7 separate regions of the Homo sapiens genome follow, and all the other regions are linked to region 2. The links are contacts of gene promoters, found by promoter capture Hi-C in blood cells and fetal thymus (Javierre and others, 2016). All regions are on one chromosome and are shown on one strand. The core of a region is centred on a gene start or on the middle of the fragment in contact, and the rest is flanking DNA. Distances in the headings are between cores, read along the strand shown.

What was found. Contacts are between HindIII fragments. The CHiCAGO score rates a contact against its expected background, and 5 or more counts as called.
Region 1: a contact is called between a fragment that was not itself captured here and the fragment with the promoter of SMUG1 in region 2, in 1 of 17 cell types (erythroblasts). The highest score is 5.4, in erythroblasts.
Region 3: a fragment that was not itself captured here is called in contact with the fragment with the promoter of SMUG1 in region 2 in 1 of 17 cell types (fetal thymus); the score reaches 5.4 in fetal thymus.
Region 4: a contact is called between a fragment that was not itself captured here and the fragment with the promoter of SMUG1 in region 2, in 15 of 17 cell types (total B cells, total CD8 T cells, naive B cells and 12 more). The highest score is 15.9, in total B cells.
Region 5: a contact is called between a fragment that was not itself captured here and the fragment with the promoter of SMUG1 in region 2, in 17 of 17 cell types (total CD8 T cells, naive CD4 T cells, naive CD8 T cells and 14 more). The highest score is 36.7, in total CD8 T cells.
Region 6: a fragment that was not itself captured here is called in contact with the fragment with the promoter of SMUG1 in region 2 in 9 of 17 cell types (total B cells, total CD8 T cells, naive B cells and 6 more); the score reaches 11.4 in total B cells.
Region 7: the fragment with the promoter of HOXC12 here is called in contact with the fragment with the promoter of SMUG1 in region 2 in 3 of 17 cell types (naive B cells, total B cells and naive CD8 T cells); the score reaches 8.1 in naive B cells.

Annotation. Positions count from the first base shown.
Region 1 is chr12:54,382,593-54,385,292 of GRCh38, forward strand. ZNF385A (zinc finger protein 385A) reads right to left here and starts at 2,141. Exons shown (of 7, transcript NM_015481.3): 1 at 1,836-2,141. The coding sequence starts at 1,922. All of the region lies in intron 1 of GPR84-AS1 (GPR84, ZNF385A, ITGA5 and GTSF1 antisense RNA 1), which reads left to right. The HindIII fragment of the contact is 1,409 bases long and covers 605-2,013 here.
Region 2 is chr12:54,187,637-54,190,336 of GRCh38, forward strand. SMUG1 (single-strand-selective monofunctional uracil-DNA glycosylase 1) reads right to left here and starts at 1,349. Exons shown (of 4, transcript NM_001243787.2): 1 at 1,315-1,349; 2 at 183-266. LOC105369777 (a long non-coding RNA gene) reads left to right here and starts at 1,461. Exons shown (of 3, transcript XR_944984.2): 1 at 1,461-1,566. The HindIII fragment of the contact is 2,636 bases long and covers 1-1,660 here.
Region 3 is chr12:54,357,734-54,360,433 of GRCh38, forward strand. All of the region lies in intron 1 of GPR84-AS1 (GPR84, ZNF385A, ITGA5 and GTSF1 antisense RNA 1), which reads left to right. It also overlaps a transcript of GPR84 not described here. Among named protein-coding and RNA genes, the nearest start is that of GPR84-AS1, 5.4 kb to the left of the region's middle. RefSeq lists enhancers at 1-36, 37-861, 862-1,686 and silencers at 1,244-1,483, 1,494-1,563, 1,714-1,893. The HindIII fragment of the contact is 3,720 bases long and covers 1-2,700 here.
Region 4 is chr12:54,041,316-54,044,015 of GRCh38, forward strand. It overlaps a transcript of HOXC4 not described here. Among named protein-coding and RNA genes, the nearest start is that of MIR615, 8.7 kb to the left of the region's middle. The HindIII fragment of the contact is 4,734 bases long and covers 1-2,700 here.
Region 5 is chr12:54,013,628-54,016,327 of GRCh38, forward strand. LOC124902939 (a long non-coding RNA gene) reads right to left here. Exons shown (of 2, transcript XR_007063323.1): 2 at 2,386-2,700. Among named protein-coding and RNA genes, the nearest start is that of HOXC8, 6.0 kb to the left of the region's middle. The HindIII fragment of the contact is 3,080 bases long and covers 1-2,700 here.
Region 6 is chr12:54,058,031-54,060,730 of GRCh38, forward strand. It overlaps FLJ12825 (a long non-coding RNA gene), which reads left to right and starts at 224. Exons shown (of 2, transcript NR_026655.1): 1 at 224-534. RefSeq lists an enhancer at 1-122. The HindIII fragment of the contact is 9,317 bases long and covers 1-2,700 here.
Region 7 is chr12:53,953,505-53,956,204 of GRCh38, forward strand. It overlaps HOXC12 (homeobox C12), which reads left to right and starts at 1,399. Exons shown (of 2, transcript NM_173860.3): 1 at 1,399-2,035. The coding sequence starts at 1,426. LOC105369775 (a long non-coding RNA gene) reads right to left here. Exons shown (of 3, transcript XR_944977.2): 2 at 2,387-2,463; 3 at 1-775. The HindIII fragment of the contact is 3,202 bases long and covers 493-2,700 here.

The DNA of each region.
Region 1 (2,700 bases), core at 59-2,558, 190 kb after region 2:
TGGGTTGTTGTGAAGGTGAAATGAGATTGCAGATAGAAACATCTGCTACAGTGCCTGGTGTGTAGTCAATGCTCAATACATGTTTATGGCTAAATATGGTTTGATGTGGGTTATTTAAGTTGAATAAGGCTGACTTTCCCCAAACTTTTAGCTCTAGCCCACCTTCCAGGCTTCAGATTCTAACTATCTGTAGAACATTTTGGGCTCAATGTCCTACTGGTATGCCAAATCACCATATCCTTTTTTTTTTAAAAAAAATATTTATTATTATTTTTTAAAACAAAACAAATAGGCCAGGCACGGTGGCTCAAGCCTGTAATCCCAGCACTTGGGAGGCTGAGGCAGGTGGATCACAAGGTCAGGGTTCCAGACCAGCCTGGCCAAGATGGTGAAACCCCATCTCTACTAAAAATACAAAAATTAGCTGGGCATGGTGGTACGTGCCTGTAATCCCAGCTACTGAGGAGGGTGAGGCAGGAGAATGGCTTGAACCCAGGAGGCGGAGGTTGCAATGAGTCAAGATCATCATGCCACTGCACTCCAGCCTGAGAGATTGAGCAAGACTACATCTCAAAAACAAAACAAAACAAAACAAAACAAATAAAGCTTTAGCTTTAGCACCACATGCTAAAGCATCATCCTCACTGGAGACCAGCTTCCTCTTCCAACCCTCTGCCTCTGTCAGTGGTGACTTCCATCCAATCACAAAGGCCTGAATGCTGGAGTCATCCTTGACTCATGCCTTCTCTTCTCCCCCACCCCCAAACACCAGTTGGTCACCATGGCCTGTCAATATTTCCTTGAAATTACCTCCCCCATTCTCCCTTTCTCTCCACTCATACTGCCACTGCCACCAGCCCCGTCTGGCTTTTGAGGCTTCCCTCGGGCCTGCATTGCTAGGACAGCCTCCTAACTGTCACCTTCCTCCTGCCTCTGTTCCCTTTCATCCAGTTGCCCCACTCACCTTCCTCAAACACTGCTCTTACCAAGTCACTCTCCTGCTCAAGAATAGACAGTGGCGGCTGGGTGTGGTGGCTCATGCCTGTAATCCCAGCACTTTGGGAGGCTGAGGCAGGCGGATCACCTGAGGTCAGGAGTTTGAGACCAGCCTGGCCAACATGGTGAAACCCCATCTCTACTAAAAATACAAAAATTAGCCCGGTGTGGTGGCACACGCCTGTAATCCCAGCTACTTGGGAGGCCGAGGCAGGAGAATCGGTGAACTGGGGAGGTGGAGGCTGCAGTGACCCAAGATCGTGCCACTGCACACCAGACTGGGCAACAGAGTGAGACTCCGTCTCATAAAAACAAACAAACAAACACACGAATAGACAGCACCTCCTTATTTCATATTGTATTAAATCTAGACCACCTTGCCAGTCCTCCAAGCCCTATCCCACTGATGCTACCCACCCAGCCGTGGACTGCAGAGAGGTGAAACTTACAAACAGGCATGCTTATTTTCCTGCTCATTCCCTCTTTCTGGATTCAGCACCTACACCCCTCCTACCTCCCTACTGTTACTACCACCAATTTAAGTCTCATTACTTCTCTAGATGGTAGGGCGATTCACTGTAGGACTAAATGAGATAATTCATATAAAACACTTAGCACAGTGTCTGGCCCGTAGCAAGACCTCAGCAAATATTAGCTATTATTATTGTTGTTAACACTGTACCAGATGGCCCACAATACTCAAAATTAACTAGAATTAAGGAAGATGGGGTCATAAGAGGAGATAAGGAATTAGAAACAGAAGAAGAGGGCAGAGGTGGGTCTGAGAGAGAAAGGTCGGGTCACAAGAGGATGGAGAAGGCAGGCAGGCTGCTACTTACGGTGCTGTAGTTGCTGAAGAGGCCAAGGGTAGGGGCTGGCTCGAGTGGGAAGGGCAGGATCTGCTTGAGGTCCAGTGGGGGCTGCATGATCGGGGGCTGCCGTAGCAGAGGCAGGGGCCCTGCCCGGCTCAGGCTGCCTGAAGGGCAGAGAAAACATTCTGTGGGGTAGGAAGATTAAAGCTTGGGAACCCCACCCAAGCCTGCCAGTCCCACTCCCTAGCCAGGGCCCCCACACTCAGAAGTGTCACCCTCAGTGCACATAGTGTACACACTTCCCCTGCTGGCTCCAGAGCAATGGAGCACAGTGCCCTGTGGGCCTGGGGGAGGGTGTAGACCAGTCCTTCCCTTCTGGGTGGTTTTCACTTCCCCCTTTTCCAGCCTCCCTCCCCCAAACTCCTTAGGCACATTACAGACCCAGTAAGAGCTCATACCTTTTCTGCAGGCTGCCTGCTGAACCAGCAGGACTCCCAGCCTCAAGCCCCTGGCCACCCTCTTCTTCTGGTTTTGCTTTCCCCCAGGGGATCCTAAAGCTTGGTATCGCCCCAGGAAGAAGAGAGTCAAGTGGGTGATTCATCCTACTGACCAGAGGGGGATATTGAGACTTAGATTTGGAGGGGGGCTGCTGAATCTCTCAGATGCCCTAGAATTAGATTTTGCTCTAACTATAATTCTTTATTAACTATTGACATCTGTGGGGGTAGGTAGTGGGTTGGGTGGCTTTTGCTCTGGGAGGTGAACTACCTAGGCCATTCTCAGAGCCCCTTCTCCCAACCTTCCTCAGTCTTCCCCCATGCCCTTTTGTCTCACCAGGAATGCTCAGCTACAGGTCCAGTTCTGCAGGAGGAACCTCGACCTGGCCTATGGG
Region 2 (2,700 bases), core at 99-2,598:
CTGATCTCATAGCAAGAGCCACAGGCTGGAAGTCAATTGATTTGAATTCTACTCCTGTTTCATCTCTAAGAAGGTTCTCTTGAGCAACTCATTTAACTCTCTTCTCTATGGAAAATCACATACTCCATCCAACCTACCACCTGTTAACTCATTTTTTTTTTCAATACTTATGAGTCTCTTACATGACAGGCACTGCAGCAGTCTCTTGATGAGGAAGAAATCCAAAAAGAGTAAAATGTAGGCCAGGCTTTCTGTAAGCTCATAATCTGCTGTGAGGGCAAATAAACAACTAACTGTAATACAGTGTGATGTGAGCTTTAATACCCGGAACAAAACACTAAGAGAACCCAAAGGAGGAACTTGTAAGTTCTACCCAAAGTCGCCCCAAGAGCCAGAGGCTTAAGAAATGTAGATATTTTATAAAATACGGTGTCATACTACATTAAGCACAAAGACAGCGGAGTTGGACCAAGCGATAAGGCTGACCACCAAGGGCCGACTTCAGACTGATGTCAGACTTCTCTGACATCAAATCCGGGAAGTGAGGAAGGAATCGAAATCACATATGCACTCCCCTGTCCTTTGGAGGCACTCCGGGAGTCCAGGGACAATAATAAATATCCTTAAACGAAATAATAATAATAATAATAATAATAATAAATAATAATAATAATAATAATAATAATAATAATAATAATAATAATGCATAGGCCGGGCGCGGTGGCTCACACCCGTAATCCGAGCACTTTGGGAGGCCGAGGCGGGCGGATCACGAGGTCAGGACTTCGAGACCAGCCTGACCAACATGGTGAAACCCAGTCTCTACTAAATACAAAAATTAGCTGGGCATGGTGGCGCGCGCCTGTAATCCCACCTACTCGGGAGGCTGAGGCAGAAGAATCGCTTGAACCCGGGAGGCGGAGGCTGCAGTGAGCTGAGATCGCGCCATTGCACTCCAGCCTGGAATTCAGAGCAAAATTCCGTCTCAGAAAAATAAATAAATAAACAATAATAATAATAAAGCATAAACTCAAAAAGACCATTTCATCTGGTTCCAAAGGGGCCGACTACTAAGGCACCATACAAAACCTCCGGGGGCGCCCGCTGGCTCCGGCCGACTGGAAAGCCTTGATCCTGCAGACCTCCCAGGCGGTTTCATAGGCTGGGCTCTCCCTGCACTGAGTCTTACCCCATACGGAGGGAGGGACCCCAAAATATAGAAATTCTAACCACCCTCTCGGCTCAGCCCCGACGACCCTGGGAGCCGTCAACTTGCCCCCACAGTCCCGGATTCCCAGCCCCCTACTTCCTCACCTGGTCCAGCTCCCCATCCCGTTTCCGGTTCCTTTCCCCCACCCCAAACCCAACCCCCGGCGCTAAGGACAGTGGGAGTCGTAGTCTACATTGTTTAGGGAAGGAGATTGGCGTACCCGCAGCCACTTCCGCCGGAAATGCTCCAATCCCGGAAGGCGCACTAAATTAGCCCTAAAGATCGCTGGGAATTGTAGTTTAATCTTTCCATCAGCGTTAAATCAGGAAGTCTTGAGAAGTGAAAAGCCACAGCCTGTAAGTACCTAGGAAATCCTGGGTTCTATCCCTAAAGGGCATCGCCCTTCCAAAAGTTCATTCACTATTTTCCCAAAGGGATTGCAAATCAGGAAGCTTCAACCATCCCCAATCCCTCACCCACCTGAAGGTATTAACAATAGCTAAAGACCATTGCTAGGCCCCCTGCCACCGTGGGTATAAGAGACTTCTCCTTTGCAGCCTGCCATTACTTATACAGAACATCCACGAAGACATTTCTGGTAGCTCCTAACAACTTTTTAGCAAGGGGCATCCCCCATTACTGTCCAAGCCCATCTCCAGAGTGTCACCATTTTGACTTCTTTCTCTGCCTTGCTATCTGCCCAACCCTATAACCTCAGTATTAGTCAAGAGTTTTCCAGAGAACAGAACTAACAGGATATCTATCTATATGACGAGATTTATTCCAAGAATTGGCTCACAGGATTGTGGAGGCCAAGAAGTCCCACAGTCTCCCGCTCTGCTGTCTATACACTGGAGAACCAGGAAAACAGGTGGTATAATTCAGGAAAGTCCAAAGCAGGGGAGGAGGCTCACTGCTAAGTCCCAGAGCCTGAAGGACGAAGAACCAGGAACTCCAATGATGTCCAAAGGCAGGTAAAATAGATGTCCCAGCTCATGAAGAAAGAGAATTTGCCTTCCTCCACTCTTTTGTTCTACTGGCCCCCAAGGGATTGGATGGTTCCCACCCATATTAATGAGGGTGATCTTCTTAGTCTACCAATTCAAATGCAAATCTCTTCCAGAAACACTCCACAGACATATCCAGAAATAATGTTTTACCAGCTATCTGGGTGTCCCTTAGACCACTCAAGTAGACACATAAAGTTAGCTATCACTCTTCCATCCAAATCTTCTCCCTCAAATACTTTGTCCAGGAAGGCTTCCCTGATCAATCCTCATCCCATGGCTGCACCTAACAGTCCATTCCCCCACCATTCCCCCATCCCAATATCTATGTCCAAATCTGTCCTATTCCTAGTTTTGTTCTTGTGCTCTATCTGGGTCTGGTTCTGTGTCGTGACTCTAAAACTTTCATTAGACTGGGAACCCCCTAAGGTTAGTTATCTTCTATATTCCTCCCACCCCACAATCTCCACACACCTTAGCACA
Region 3 (2,700 bases), core at 62-2,561, 170 kb after region 2:
GCCAGAGAAATCTGCCTCTGAATTTTCTGGCTTATCTCCCCTATTCCTCAGCAACTGAGCTTAAGGGGACAGGGGGGAAATGGGCTTCTCCCCACCTTCTGCAAAAATGTTGTAACTGCACACTAGGGGCTATACGAATGCCAGGATGCTTGGAAAGTTCCTCCCCTATCTGCCTTCAATCCTTTCTGCTGCAAAGCTCTGCAGTCCTCTGAGGGGCTCTACAGGATAGTCAACCCCTCTTCCTGATACCTGAAACCCATTCCTCACCTCCGTCTGTGCTTCCTTCTCTGGCTCAGGAGGAGAGGGAATGTGTGGGTGGGGCCTTGGGAAAATGGCCATGTTAAAAATAGGAGCCCCCAGCTGCACCCCCCAGTGGACCCTTATTTATCACCTTCTAAATCTCACTCTCAAAGAAGCATAAATATTCCTAATTCCTGAAGGCCACCCTGGACTCATAAATTTAACTGGGGAGGTGGGCAAGGGGAGGAGTGAGGTGCATGGGATGGGGAGCTTACTGCAGCCTTGAGGAAGCAGAATATCTCCTGGGGGAGGCGCCTGACTCGTCTGTCCCCTTGCAGACGCCAATGGGTCTTCATAGGGGAGGAGGAGGAGCCTTTCTGTCAATATTTCCGTTGGGGAGTAGTCTTCTCTCACGGCACCTTTCCTCCCTCCCCTAAAAACAAACAAAAAACCAAAAACCTACCTTCCTCCTGGTCTTTCCCATTAGTTCTCTGTCGCTCTCCCTCTCTCTTTTCTTTGCTATTACCTTCCAGTTGTCCTTTCCTGCTTCTCCCTCTCTCTCACCTCCCTATTGCGCCTTTCTCTGTCTTTGCTTCTCTAATGCTTTTCCTTTTCAGAGCCATTGTGTGAAAAGGAAATTTCCGTCTCTTATTCAGTCTGGATAGTGAGATTTGAAAAGTCCCTCTCTCGATGCCCGATTTCCCTGCTTCAGCCCGTGTGGCCCCTCAAATGTGTCCTTTCTCTTCATCTCTCCTTCTTTCTTCTCGGATCTTGGACAAATTACCCAACCCCCCATTTAGCTCCTTAACCCTCTCTCTCTTCCCCTGCCTTCCTTCTCTCCTCAACCTTCCTTTCTTTCTGTCATCCTTTTGCCCTCTCAGTTTCCCCTTCGTTCCTCAGCTCGGAATCCTCTCTCCCTGTTCAGTCTCCTCTGCTCTCCCTGTCGGCCCCCATCCACACCCCTCAAACTCGACTCCTCGGCCCATGTGTACCCTCAGACCCCATCATCCCTTCAGTTCCCGTTACCACCACACCCCAGTTTCCCCTCCCAGTGGACGAAAGAGAAGGGAGGAGGGGGCCTGAGGAACAGGTAGAGGGAGCGCCATTCCTTGAGGGGAGGGAAAGAGGGGAAAAAAGCGGGGGAGAGGAGGAGGGACGCGGCGGGAAGGGGAGGGGAGGGGCATCCTCACTCCTCACTCCCTAGCAGCTGCACCCCCCTCCCCGCGGCTGCTGAGCCATAAATCAGGGCCAAGGTGGTTTGGCCAATGGTAGAGTGACTCGTAAATCGGCCTGTCAAGCTCAGCCAATGAGAGGCGGCGTTAAATCAAGTTCTGTCAGCGCTTGGCCAATGAAAGGCCCTGGGCTGACCATAAATCTGCCTGTAAGAGACAGCGAAAGAGAGAGAGCGTGCGAACGAGCAAGAACAGCCCGGGCGGGCGACTGGGGAGGGGGCGGGGGGAGCGCGGCAGCGGGGATTGGAGAGACGAGCTTAGGAGAAAAAAAAAGGCGATAACAGAGGTACAGGAGATGAAGACAGCCTACAGGAGAGACGGACAGATGGAAAGAGACAAAGAGAGGCAGTGAGAGATAGCGTCAGAAAGTCAGGGATAGAGCTCGGACTCGGGCGAGAGACTGACAGAGATAAAGAGACAAAGAGAGACAGACAGTGACTCACACTCGTGAGCATAAAGGGCCTCCAAACACACACACATCCCGAGACACGCATGAGCAACGCACCACGAGGGACCCAGTGCATGGCCTCACTCGCCAAGCACAACCGCAAGAGAGAGAAGGCCTCAAGAAAGCCTGGCTTTTCTTCAGTTTCATTCCCCTCATTCAGCCCTTATTGAAATTAGGGGCTGGGGTGGATGTGTGGGCCGTGGCGGGTGGCTGCTTTTTTGCTAAGATCTGTCCTCTATGGTCTTAGACCCCAGGATTTCCTTCTGTGTCTCCTGAGTTTTTTTTTTTTCCCCCCAGCGACTGATAATTGGGAAGTCCTTTCTGAGGTCTAACCTCAATCCCTATTGCTTCACCTTTCTACTTGACACCGTTGTGATTTGCCTTCTAAGGACATGTAAAGTGAATCCTTTTACAACTCTTCAGAGTTGTCAACTTTCAGAATCTTAGAAGGTCTGAATAGGAAGGACAGTTAGGGATCATCTGGACACTTGATCCTAGTTTTAGAAAGGCGGATTTGAGACTCTGCCCTCAAATCACGGTCTTACAACGTACTAGGCATTCGGCCTTGGACAAATTACTTAACCTATTTGTGCTTCAGTTTTCACATTTGTAAGAAAGAAATTATAATAGATACTTCATGGTAATTTTGTGAGGATTACATGAAATAATATATGTACAGGGAACTGCACTGGGCACGTGTTAAGAGTGTACCCCGCACCCCGCTTTGTACAGATGATAAAATCTGAGCCCCAGAGTGGTCCAGAGATCTGCTCAAGTTCC
Region 4 (2,700 bases), core at 28-2,527, 150 kb before region 2:
TCTCCCCCAGCCACTTCTCTAGAGCTTTGTTTCAGAGTGAATTTTCTGGTTGGGTTCTCCTCCCCTTCTCTTCCTGATCTCTTGCCCTCTTTGAGCTAAGGGGCAGGAGTTCTGATGGACTGTGGCACCTGGACCTCTAAGCACCCCCCTGGGGGCATTAAGAGTACAAGAATGGGAAGGATAGTCCGGACTGAGCTGGGCTTTGTCAACAATCCCCTCATTGTTTGTCTTCTGGATGGAGCTGGTTTGGGGACAATGCCACAGGCCAGGTGGGAAGGATAAGGATGAGAAGCCAGAAAAAGAGCAGCTCTTCTCAGAAATCATTGAGCCCTCACTTTTCAAGTTACCTTCAACCACACTGCTCCATCTGCTTATTTTGAGACTAAGTTTCACTCTTGTCGCCCCGGCTGGAGTGCAATGGCACAATCTCGGCTCATCGCAAACTCTGTCTCCTGGGTTCAAGTGATTCTCCTGCCTCAACCTCCCAAGTGGCTGGGATTACAGGTGCCCACCACCACACCCAGTTAATTTTTGTATTTTTGGCAGAGATGAGATTTAATCATGTTGCCCAGGCTGACCTCAGGTAATCCACACGCCTCATCCTCCCAAAGTGCTGAGATTACAGGTGTGAACCACCGCGCCCAGCCTTTTCTTTTCTTTTCTTTTTTTTTTTTTTTTTTGAGATGGAGTTTCACTCTTGTTGCCCAGGCTATAGTGCAATGGCAGGATCTCAGCTCACCGCAAACTCTGCCTCCTGGGTTCAAGCGATTCTCCTGCCTCAGCCTCCTGAGTAGCTGGGATTAGAGGCATGCACCACCACGCCTGGCTAATTTTGTATTTTTAATAGAGACAGGGTTTCTCCGTGTTGGTCAGGCTGGTCTCAAACTCCTGACATCAGATGATCCGCCTGCCTTTGCCTCCCAAGGTGCTGGGATTACAGGCATGAGCCACCGTGGCCAGCCCCATTTGCCTCTTTTATGAGTTAGAATTAAAGGACACACTTATTCTTCCCCAGTGAATGGTGTGGCAGATTGTTGGAGACCAACTCTCACCCTCAATGTGGACTTCTCACACTGGGGTACCAGATCTCATGAAGAGTTAGGAAACAAAGACAGGGGGAGATTGGTTCTATCCACACAGGCACTGGGAAAAGAGATTTTGTGAGTGCCTCGACCCCTCCTTGTGAGTGCCTCAAAAAGGTAAACTTTCTCTTTTTGACTGTCGTTCTCTGTAACTGCTTTGGACTGAGTTTTTGAGAGGGGGAATGCTGAAACATCATTGTTCTAGGATTTAATTAGGTCCTTTTTGCTGAGAAGACAAGCACCACCACCCTGAGCCTCTTCTTTAGTGGGACTAGGGCCCCTGAAGCCCTTTGAGGTGAAGGAGAAAGAAAATCTGAAATCAGGGTGCCAAACTAGGGTTTTGGGGTGAATGATTCAATTTAAGGAGAAGACGATGCTGTTTGAGAGCCAAGAAAGTCACATCCTTTCCTACCCCTCCCAACTTTTATTGGCTCCTTGTGACCCACATTGGTGTGTCTGTACTGATACTATCTCTGCTAGCAGCTTTGATGGGGCTCCAGGAGCCCAAGGAATTGCCAGACAAGGTCTGGGTTGAGGAACTTCGGTGATACAAATCTCTTTATTTTTGAGGCCTACACAACCCTTGTAATCATCTCCCTCTCCCAATCCTAAGGTTCACTGAGAGGCAAAAGGGGAACAGAGATACCTCAGAGGAAGCGGTATGGGTGTGCAATGTGGGACTTGGGAAAATTGGACTCGGTTATGCAGGACCTTGTTCAGCCTCTAAGGACCACATTTTAGCAGCTATGAGAAGAGGTTGAACACTTGGGCTGGGCCCTGAGCCGGTCCACTGCTCCAGGCATGCTGGGGAGCAAGTGCAGGGAGAAGGCTGCTTCTCTGCATCTGTACACATGTACAGAGAAAGTTCTACAGTGATCTGCAACCCCATATGGGCTGGGTGAAATGTGTAGCCTGGTCACCTAGGATCCTTTCAGTTCTGCACCACAGGTCTCAGAGAGGCAGTTCAGGCTTGGTTCTGCCCTCTAAAGATTCTCATTTACCCCAGCCCCTGGCCCTGAACACCAGAATACCTGAACACACAGAAACACATATATGTGCCCAAGGATGGTATGGTAGAGGTCAGAAGCCTGGGCTGGACACAGTAACCAGCATGGAACCAACTTCCCACTCCTCCCTCCCACTCCATTCTTCCCGTCAGCCCAGCTTGGAAACCATTTGTCCTCCCCACCCCACCCCCACCCCTCAAGCCCTGCGCAGCTGTTGAGTTTCCTTCCTTCTGCCTTTCTGGAAAACTCAAACGCTAGAGCTGACTCCAGGGATGGTGGCAGCCAGGCTTTCTGTGATCTTCAGTGTTGTGTTGGCCCAGATTGAGTTGTCAGGAGTTGAAGAGACATGGAGGGTCCAAGGAGGCCAGAATCTTATCTGATCTAATCCCCCTCTCCTTCTGTTCCAAGCTCAAACTCCAAACTCCTCAGGGCTCCCTTGCTCAGACATTAGAGATAAATCTTGTCTAGTAAATACTTCTTTTAAAAGTCAACTTTCTGGCTGGAAAACACAGGCTGTGTGTGTGTGTGTGTGTGTGTGTGTGTGTGTGTGTGTGTGTGTGTGTTTAGGGAGTAGTAAGGGTCAGGTCTTTCATTTTATGTTGTGTCTCTCC
Region 5 (2,700 bases), core at 38-2,537, 170 kb before region 2:
TGAGTGGACATCCTGCCACCCCAGTCACAGCGGGGTAAGAGGGCGTCTTTATTGGTATCTTCATTCCCCAAAATGAAGAATTGAAGGCTCAGGGACCCAGGGGGTAGAAGGGTCTCTCACTTCTCTCTGGAGAGTCCTGGACTTAAAAATTCTGTTTATGCCAATAAGATTCTGGTCAAATAATCCCAAATTCCAGAGATACAAGTCTTCTGACTCAGTCAGGAGAGGGGAAAAGGGAGGGGAGGGATCTTCTGGTCTTAAAAACCAGACCCCCGAAGGCTGAAATATTTTTGAGGCCAGATTTTCTTTCTTTCTTTTTCTCTTCTCTTCTCTTCTCTTCTCTTCTCTTCTCTTCTCTTCTCTTCTCTTCTCTTCTTTCTCTCTCTCTCTCTCTCTCTCTCTCTCTCTCTCTCTCTCTCTCTCTCTCTGTCCTCCCCACCCCTCATCTGTCTAGCTCCTGGTCAATGATTTTCCCAGACCTAGGCCCAGGCCAACTCTTGTTTTGTGGAATTTCACCCAGGTCCCAGTCACTGGTCCCCACGCAAACCGGGCCTGAAAATCGGGCCTGAGTAGAGAATTGAGTCGGGCTTCCTTCACAGGGGGACTCCTGCAGTCCGAGAAAGGCTGTGAATTGGAAGCACAGGCTGCAGGCAGCTGGGGCAGCTTTGAGCAGGAGCTCCGGGAAATCTTCTCTAACCTGGGGTCCCTGCTGTGAGCAGCGGCACCAGCCAGGTAACCTGTTCTCAGTGGGAGACACCGGCTACCCACCAGGGAAGCCAGAAAAGAGGCCATTTCGCTCAGACCTCAGGCCTTCCCACAGGCGTGTCCTCCATACTCCGAGGGATGGCTGAGGTCCCGTTTCGTTTTTAAACGTGGAATTATGATTGCTATTAATAAAAATATCTGGCCCAGTAGCCTAGCGGAATGAACCCAGCATTAAATGGCTCCGAAGGGCCTCGCCGCCTTTTCCCCACACCAAATGTGCCATTTATCCCTTGTCCTGTTCAGCAATGTCCGTGGCCCCAAGCCCGGCGCGTCGGAGGGCGGGGTGCGTCTGGCGCCCGGCTTTACTCGAGATGCCAGGCATGGAGAGGGCTAAGCCGAGGGAGCCCCAGCCACCCCCTCATGCAGTACCCGCTCCCCCACCCCTCCTGCCCACCGCCTCTGTTTTCTCGTTTGGAAAGAAATGGAGGTAAAAACCCGTTTTATGGGGGAACGTAATTGTGAGCGGGATGCGCTCTCTTTAGAATCGCGTCCTCCCAAATGCTCCCGCCGTCCCATTACCGGAATGGGGACCATTCGGCTGCTGCAGATAGGACTTTCTCTCCCATTCTTTACTTTTTTATTAGCCAATCAAAGTGGCTTCCGAAAGCCATTTGTGATTTGTGAAAAATAGTATCTTTCAAAATGCTGAGTTGAAGCATCTCGCTCATTGCTCCTTGAATTTATTATTCTAATCTCAACCGTAGAGCTGGAATAATGCAGCTATTAAGTTGGGGGGCAAATTCGTTTCTCTGGATTAAATTTTTTTTCCTCCCCACTCCCTCATTGCATCAGCCAAGGAAGGTGCGGACCTGCAAGAGATCTGGGGGTGGGTGAGAGAGGTAGTGAGCGTCCTGAAGGGCTCCTTGAGGGACCCTTGGATAGGCGAGTGGTTTGGTCTCCCCAGTCTTATCTTCCCCAGATAAGATGCCCTAATGACTGCCTGCTGGCTGGGAAAGTTACCCCGCCCAATTAGGGAGAATTCAGGACAGGTTGTGCCACAGTCTAGAAGTAAAATTTCCGGTGAGCTGCCCGCAGCGCCGTCCCATTCTCCCCGCTGCCCATTGTGAAAAGCTGGGCCAGCGCTTCCTTGTCGTAATTTTTAACTACCTGTTATAAAATTTATGGGTGGGTTTGTGAAAAGAAACGAGGTCCCTGCATCCGGCCTAGGGAACTGCTTTTCTTACTATGGAGGAAGTCTGGGGAAGGCATGAGGTATCCCCTCTTGGTCAGGGTTGAGGCACCCAACCATTGAGATTCCCATGCCAGCTTGATGCGGGACCAAGTGGAGAGATGCCGGCCTTCAAATCTCGAGCCCGTGGGGAGAGTGACCTGCCTGCAACCCCTCCCCCGGCAAATAGTCTCTATGGGGGAATTTATTCTGGACTCACCTTCAAAATTAGGGGTCTGGAAAAACAGGCTGCTCGAAATTTTAGCACAGAAGGTGGAATTCAGGGCAGTAAAAGGTTATTTTTTCAGGCCTCGGTAGTACATCCCAGCTGCCCAGACATTGAATCAGGAAATTTTTCTGAGAAAGGCAGGTGGGTATGGGCAATCTGACACGATCCAAAAGGCTTACTGCCTTGCACCCCTCCCCGCAAAAAGGAAGTAGAGACCAAGATCTTGGGCTTTAATTTTATTTTTAATTGTAAAAAGATTTCAAATAAGCCACCATTTGAACTGGGAAGGGAAACTAGGGATGGTCTTGGGGGAAAATGTCATTCTCTCTAAGAAAGGGACCCCGGGGATGTGGGTCGTTTTGAGGGTCCTAGAAGTTGACCCCAATTCTCACCTCTCCTGCTGCACTGCAGGATTGCCCAGGGTAGGTCTAGTCCCCTAGGTTCTTCAGACCACTCCAGGTCAGGTTTGGTTGGGTGGCTGCCAGTGGTCTTCCACTACTGTTCCTGTCTAGGGTGGAGTAGGAGCTTTCAGGGGTAC
Region 6 (2,700 bases), core at 104-2,603, 130 kb before region 2:
GCCTTGGACTTGGCAACCCAGAATGGCATGGCAGGGTTGGGATGTGGGGGGCCAGTCTGGGCCGAGGGCCCCAAGCTCCAGCAGTCTTGGTCCCTGCTGCTCTGCCTGATGCTGCTACAGCCTCGCTGGGAAGCTGAGGGCTGGGCTTTTATTTAAGTTGGGTTGAGCAGTGGGGAAAGGCTGGGGGGAGGACACAGCCCAGGTTCACGGGGAGGACACAGCATTTTCTCTCCCATTGCCTTTATATTCGGCAGCGCCTCTGACCTCTCCCCCACCCCCATCTCTGACCCTCCCAAGCCAGCCCTTGCTCAGCCCTGGTCTCCAGATAGGATGCCACTGCTTTTGTAGGACTGGGGATTTCTTGCCCAGAGTAATGGGAGAGGCAAGGCGCATGAATGCCTGTAAGTGCATTGTATCCCTCTCTCTTCAATGGCTAAGTAAAAAGAAGACGGGTGAAATGTCGACACCAATCTTCCAGGGTTCCTTCTCTCCAAGCGCCAGGAGATCCCCACAGGCCAAAGATCCCATTGACACGTAAGTAGTTAGCACTCGGTCTGCTCTGGGGGTGAGGAGCACAAAAGTTTAAACTCTTATTTGCCACTCAATTTTTGTCTCAACTCCCGGTCTTAGGCAGGGAAGGCGGGAAATCCAATTGTAAGCGGAGGGGTTCTGCTTGGAGAAAAAGACGGTTCTGTGCTGAGTCTGTGTACCTGGGGAGTAAAGAAATTTGGCTCAAAAAAGAGAGAGTCTGAGAAAGTGAGACTGAGGGAAAAGGACTGGGGCACTTTGCCTTTCCGAGGGTCTCTTGCTGCTGTTTGTGTGAAGTTTCCTACAAAGTTTTCTCTGCAATCTGTGCTTCAGTTTTCTTTCTGCTTGGACTTGGCAGATTGAAATCCAGAGACAGCTTCCCACAGCTAGGGGTGTGTGTGTGTGTGTGTGTGTGTGTGTGTGTGTGTGTGTTGGGGGGAGTTGTAGGGAAGTGAAAACAATTAAAAGGTTTGCTGGGAGCTTGGAGCCAGGGTGTCCTTCTCTGCTTTTCTAGGATTAGGGGAGACTGACTCTGAAAGGGGCCCTTAAGATCAAGGGTGCTATGACGGGGAGGAGCAGTGCGCTGGAGCAACTGTACCATCTTTTTCTCTGCCTTTTGCCCAGTCCTGGGGGAGCAAGCTATTGCACTCACAAAACCACCGCTCCGGGTTTTCCACAGCTTCTATCTGGCACTGCACCTATGGAGAGCTAATTTTAATTTAAATGTTCCCCTTCCAAGAGACCCCTCTCAGGCTTGGAATGAGAGATGGAAGATCCCTGAACACCAGAACTCCAGCGGCCACCAGAGCAGAGGGAATATTTATTACCTCTCTGGATGTCATTACCTAAGAATACAATTTTATGAACTTCCTAATCTGTTAGCTTGATTTATCTGGATGGGCAGGAGCCCAAAATAAACATTTGGGGGATTTGTTAAAAAAAAAAAAAGTCTTTGCCTCTTACCAATGTTTTTGATAGAGCTGACCACCCTTCTCAGCCTGCTTTTTCTGCACCCTGCATTGCCAGCCCCATTTTGATTTTTCTCCTGCAGCGTGTGGCTGCTCCGGGTGTTGGAGTTTTAGCTGCCTCTTGATAATTAAAAATGGGGGCAGTGAACTCTGAGCTACAGATCTGTGAGGAGCCCTCGAACATTTTAAAACCTGCGCAGCTCAAGGAGCTCAGACCCCTTTGGAGCTTGGGGAGCAGAAAGAAGCTAAAGCTGATCTGGAGCTTTGCTCATCAGCCCTCCAATGCCAGGAGCCCCTGGCTCTCCCTCCACTCCTCCGGGTTTTTCTTCTCTTCTCTCTGGTGTCAGTTCCGTAGCTCTTTGAACGCAGGGCCAATCCAGCAGAGCCCACATCCAGGCCTGCCGGGATAAGGGCCTCTGCAGCCTCATCTTCCTGCTTCCACTTTCTGCCAGGCCTGGAGGATAAATCAGGAGGAAGGGAAGACAAGGATGGGTAGGGAATATCAGACTATGTTTGAGGGCGATTAGGGTTACAGAGCCTAATAAAGAGGAAGGGACTATTTTAAATTTCCGGGCCCCATCAACAATTTTCAGATTCCTGAATAGGCAGCATCCTCTAGGGTCAGCTCTGCCTGCCTCGATGGGGTATGAGTGAAGCCAAAATAGTGTCGCTTCTACTCACTCCTCCTTTCTGACTCCCTCTTTTCCCAGCATCAAAGATCGGGAGAGGAAAGTATACAGTATTTTAATTTCCAGGCAGAAAAAAACCCTGGAACCGAGTGTGCAGGAGGCACTGCCAGATAGCCAAACCCTAGGTTCCACTCTGGAGCTCTGGCTTCCCGGGAAGCCTGGCCGCGAGAGAATGGGGCAAAATGTGACTGTCTTCATGGGGTGGGGGTGTCCCAGCTCCCCTTCTCACAGAGGCCAGGGTCTTGAGGATCGCGAAATGGGGCCAGCCGGGGCAAAGACGAAGTTTCAAGGGCCAGCGGCAGCCAGGCTCCTCCTCTGGGTTCCACGCCACGTCCGCCCTGGGCGCGGTGTCGCCTTCAGCTGGGTCACGACCCCGGGCTTGGGCGGACAATAGGGGCGCGGGGCGGGGAGCGCGGGATGCGTGGCCAGCTGAGCGGGTTCACTGCGCGGTGAACTCCGCTGGGCCTGAGGGTCTCGCCCTTTAGATCCCAGCCTCTCCTTTCTTCCTCCTATCT
Region 7 (2,700 bases), core at 149-2,648, 230 kb before region 2:
ATTTAGACGTTTACTGAACTATTTATCCAACCCTGTATTACTTAAGCCATGCATTGGTTAGAAGCTCGAAATAATCACATGGAAATTCGAGTGTTTTTTCTATTAGACCCCAAAAGGATACATCTGGTTTGGGGGAGTTTTATTTTGTCTTTCTTTTTAATCCGCTTGGCTGTGTTCTGTGGACCTAGTTGAGATCGGATTGTGGTTTTGCAGATGTTGATTATCTCACCAATGGCCAGCATTGCTTCTCGGCCTTCTCTGGAGGGAGCTTCTGAGTTTGCACCATAAATATAATTTCACCCCCCAATAAGATAATTCTTCAAGGGTTTTTTCCCTCAATCCTAGCCCCCTCAGGAGGCAACCTACTGCGGGCCTCTGCACTGCTATCTGATGGTCCCAGGGGCAGGCTTGGCCGGTTCTGGGGTGCAGTTGTCTCCTCCGCAGTGAGAATTAGGCCCCTCTCAGCCCAGTCAAGCCCTGTTAGGGGTCCAAAGCTTCCCACTGCAAAGACTCCAGGAGGCCCCCAGAAGCTCCTCAGTTCCCCGGAAATGACAGCAGAAGAGTAGTTCGCCCCCAGATTTTCAGGAGCAGGCAGGCAGGTCCATGTGGAGCTAGGCACCTCCTTTTGCTGCATTCTCTACCTCCCTTCCGCATCCTTCCTCTAGCCGTGAGTGGAGGTGTGAGGCTGGGTGGCTCCCGGCTCCAGAGGAAAACCCGGCATTATCAATTATCCTTGAGTATTGGGGAAGAGGACTCCAAATGTCTCTCCAAATTCCTGAGGATAAAGAGCTGATAAAGAAGTGTGCAGCAGCAGCTGGGGCGGGAAGAGATAACGGCAGGGAAACCTGTCCTTACCCCCACTTCGCCTCTACTGTAAATAAACCCCGAGCCAAAGGGCTCATCCGTCTCCTTAAACAGTCAGTAAACTTTATATGACACAATATCTAATAGTAATTTATTGAGGAGATATTGTAAATTCCAACGGTTTTAGTTAATAAAGAAGCTAATTAAAGAGGGACAGGCTGTGCTTGGCCAGCTGTTGGCGATAAGATAATATATGGGGGGGGGTGCAGGTTATAGGGGTGTATATATGCGGGCATTTTTTGGTGTGTGTTTTTTCCCTTTTGCCCCGTGTTGGGCAATTGCTTTACTCTCTGCGTTAGGTTATATACATTGTTTTAGAAAATCAGTTCAGCAAATAAACCTGCCCCCGCCCTTTGTTACCCCACTCACCCCCAGGATTGGGGAAGGGGGAAGTTAGAGTGCGGGATGGGATGGTGGGGGGGGGGGATCGGTTGTCCCCACCCCTCCCCCTGGCGGCCGTGCCCACGTGAGTGGGGCGGCCAATGGGTGACTGGTGCAGATTTAACTATGTTTAATGTCAGATAGCAATAAAGTAGAAGCTGCCGGTCGGGCCCCGCGGAAATGGGCGAGCATAATCTCCTGAATCCCGGGTTTGTGGGGCCGCTGGTAAACATCCACACGGGAGACACCTTCTACTTCCCCAACTTCCGCGCGTCCGGGGCGCAGCTTCCCGGGCTGCCTTCGCTGTCCTACCCACGCCGCGACAACGTGTGCTCCCTGTCCTGGCCGTCGGCGGAGCCGTGCAATGGCTACCCGCAGCCCTACCTCGGCAGCCCAGTGTCTCTCAACCCTCCCTTCGGCCGCACGTGCGAGCTGGCGCGCGTGGAGGACGGCAAGGGTTACTACCGCGAGCCGTGCGCCGAGGGTGGCGGCGGGGGCCTGAAGCGTGAGGAGCGCGGGCGCGACCCGGGAGCCGGGCCCGGGGCAGCGCTGCTCCCGCTGGAGCCGTCGGGGCCGCCTGCGCTCGGCTTCAAGTACGACTACGCGGCGGGCGGCGGCGGTGGCGACGGCGGCGGCGGCGCAGGACCTCCGCACGACCCGCCCTCCTGCCAGTCGCTGGAATCCGACTCCAGTTCGTCCCTGCTCAACGAGGGCAACAAGGGCGCCGGCGCAGGCGACCCCGGCAGCTTGGTATCGCCGTTGAACCCCGGCGGCGGGCTCTCGGCCAGCGGTAAGGACCCCGGCCACTCAAGCGGCGGATTCAAACCCGACCTCTTACCAGGGCGGGCAGAACAGGACTGAGCTAGGGACGCCCAGGGTGACAGAATGTGTGGCGAGGAAGAGCTTCTTATAAAATGAAGTGCGGGTGGGGGGAGCCTATAAACATGTAAACATCCCCACAAAAGAAATGGAGAGTGTTCCTTTTTCGTCTGCCTGCGGCTGGAGGCGGCAGGGATTCCGGAGTTGGGGGATCCTGACGGGGACTCCCCAGGCCTGGGGGTGAGGAGGTGGGGACAGAAAGCCCGGCCCTAGTTCTCCCAGGCGCCTCTCCCTCCACCTTCCCACAGACCCCATTACTTACATTTCGAAAGAAATGCCAGTGGATGCGTTTACTCTGCCATTCGCCCATATCTGTTGTAACTGATCCGGGATCCAGTCCTGAAGGATGTGAGAGGAAGGGACCAGGAAATAGGGAAGAAGAAAATTGGGGAGAGGTTTGGGAAAAAAGGAGGGGATAGGGACTTAGAAGGGTCATGAATAGTGCAGCAGGAGGTAGGGTTGAGGAGGTAAGAGCAAAGAATGAAAGGAAAAAAAAGAGTAAAGAAAGTGGGGGAGTTGGTGGGGATGTGGGTCTGGGTAGAAAAGACGATTCAGATGACTGGCGGCAAGGAGAAG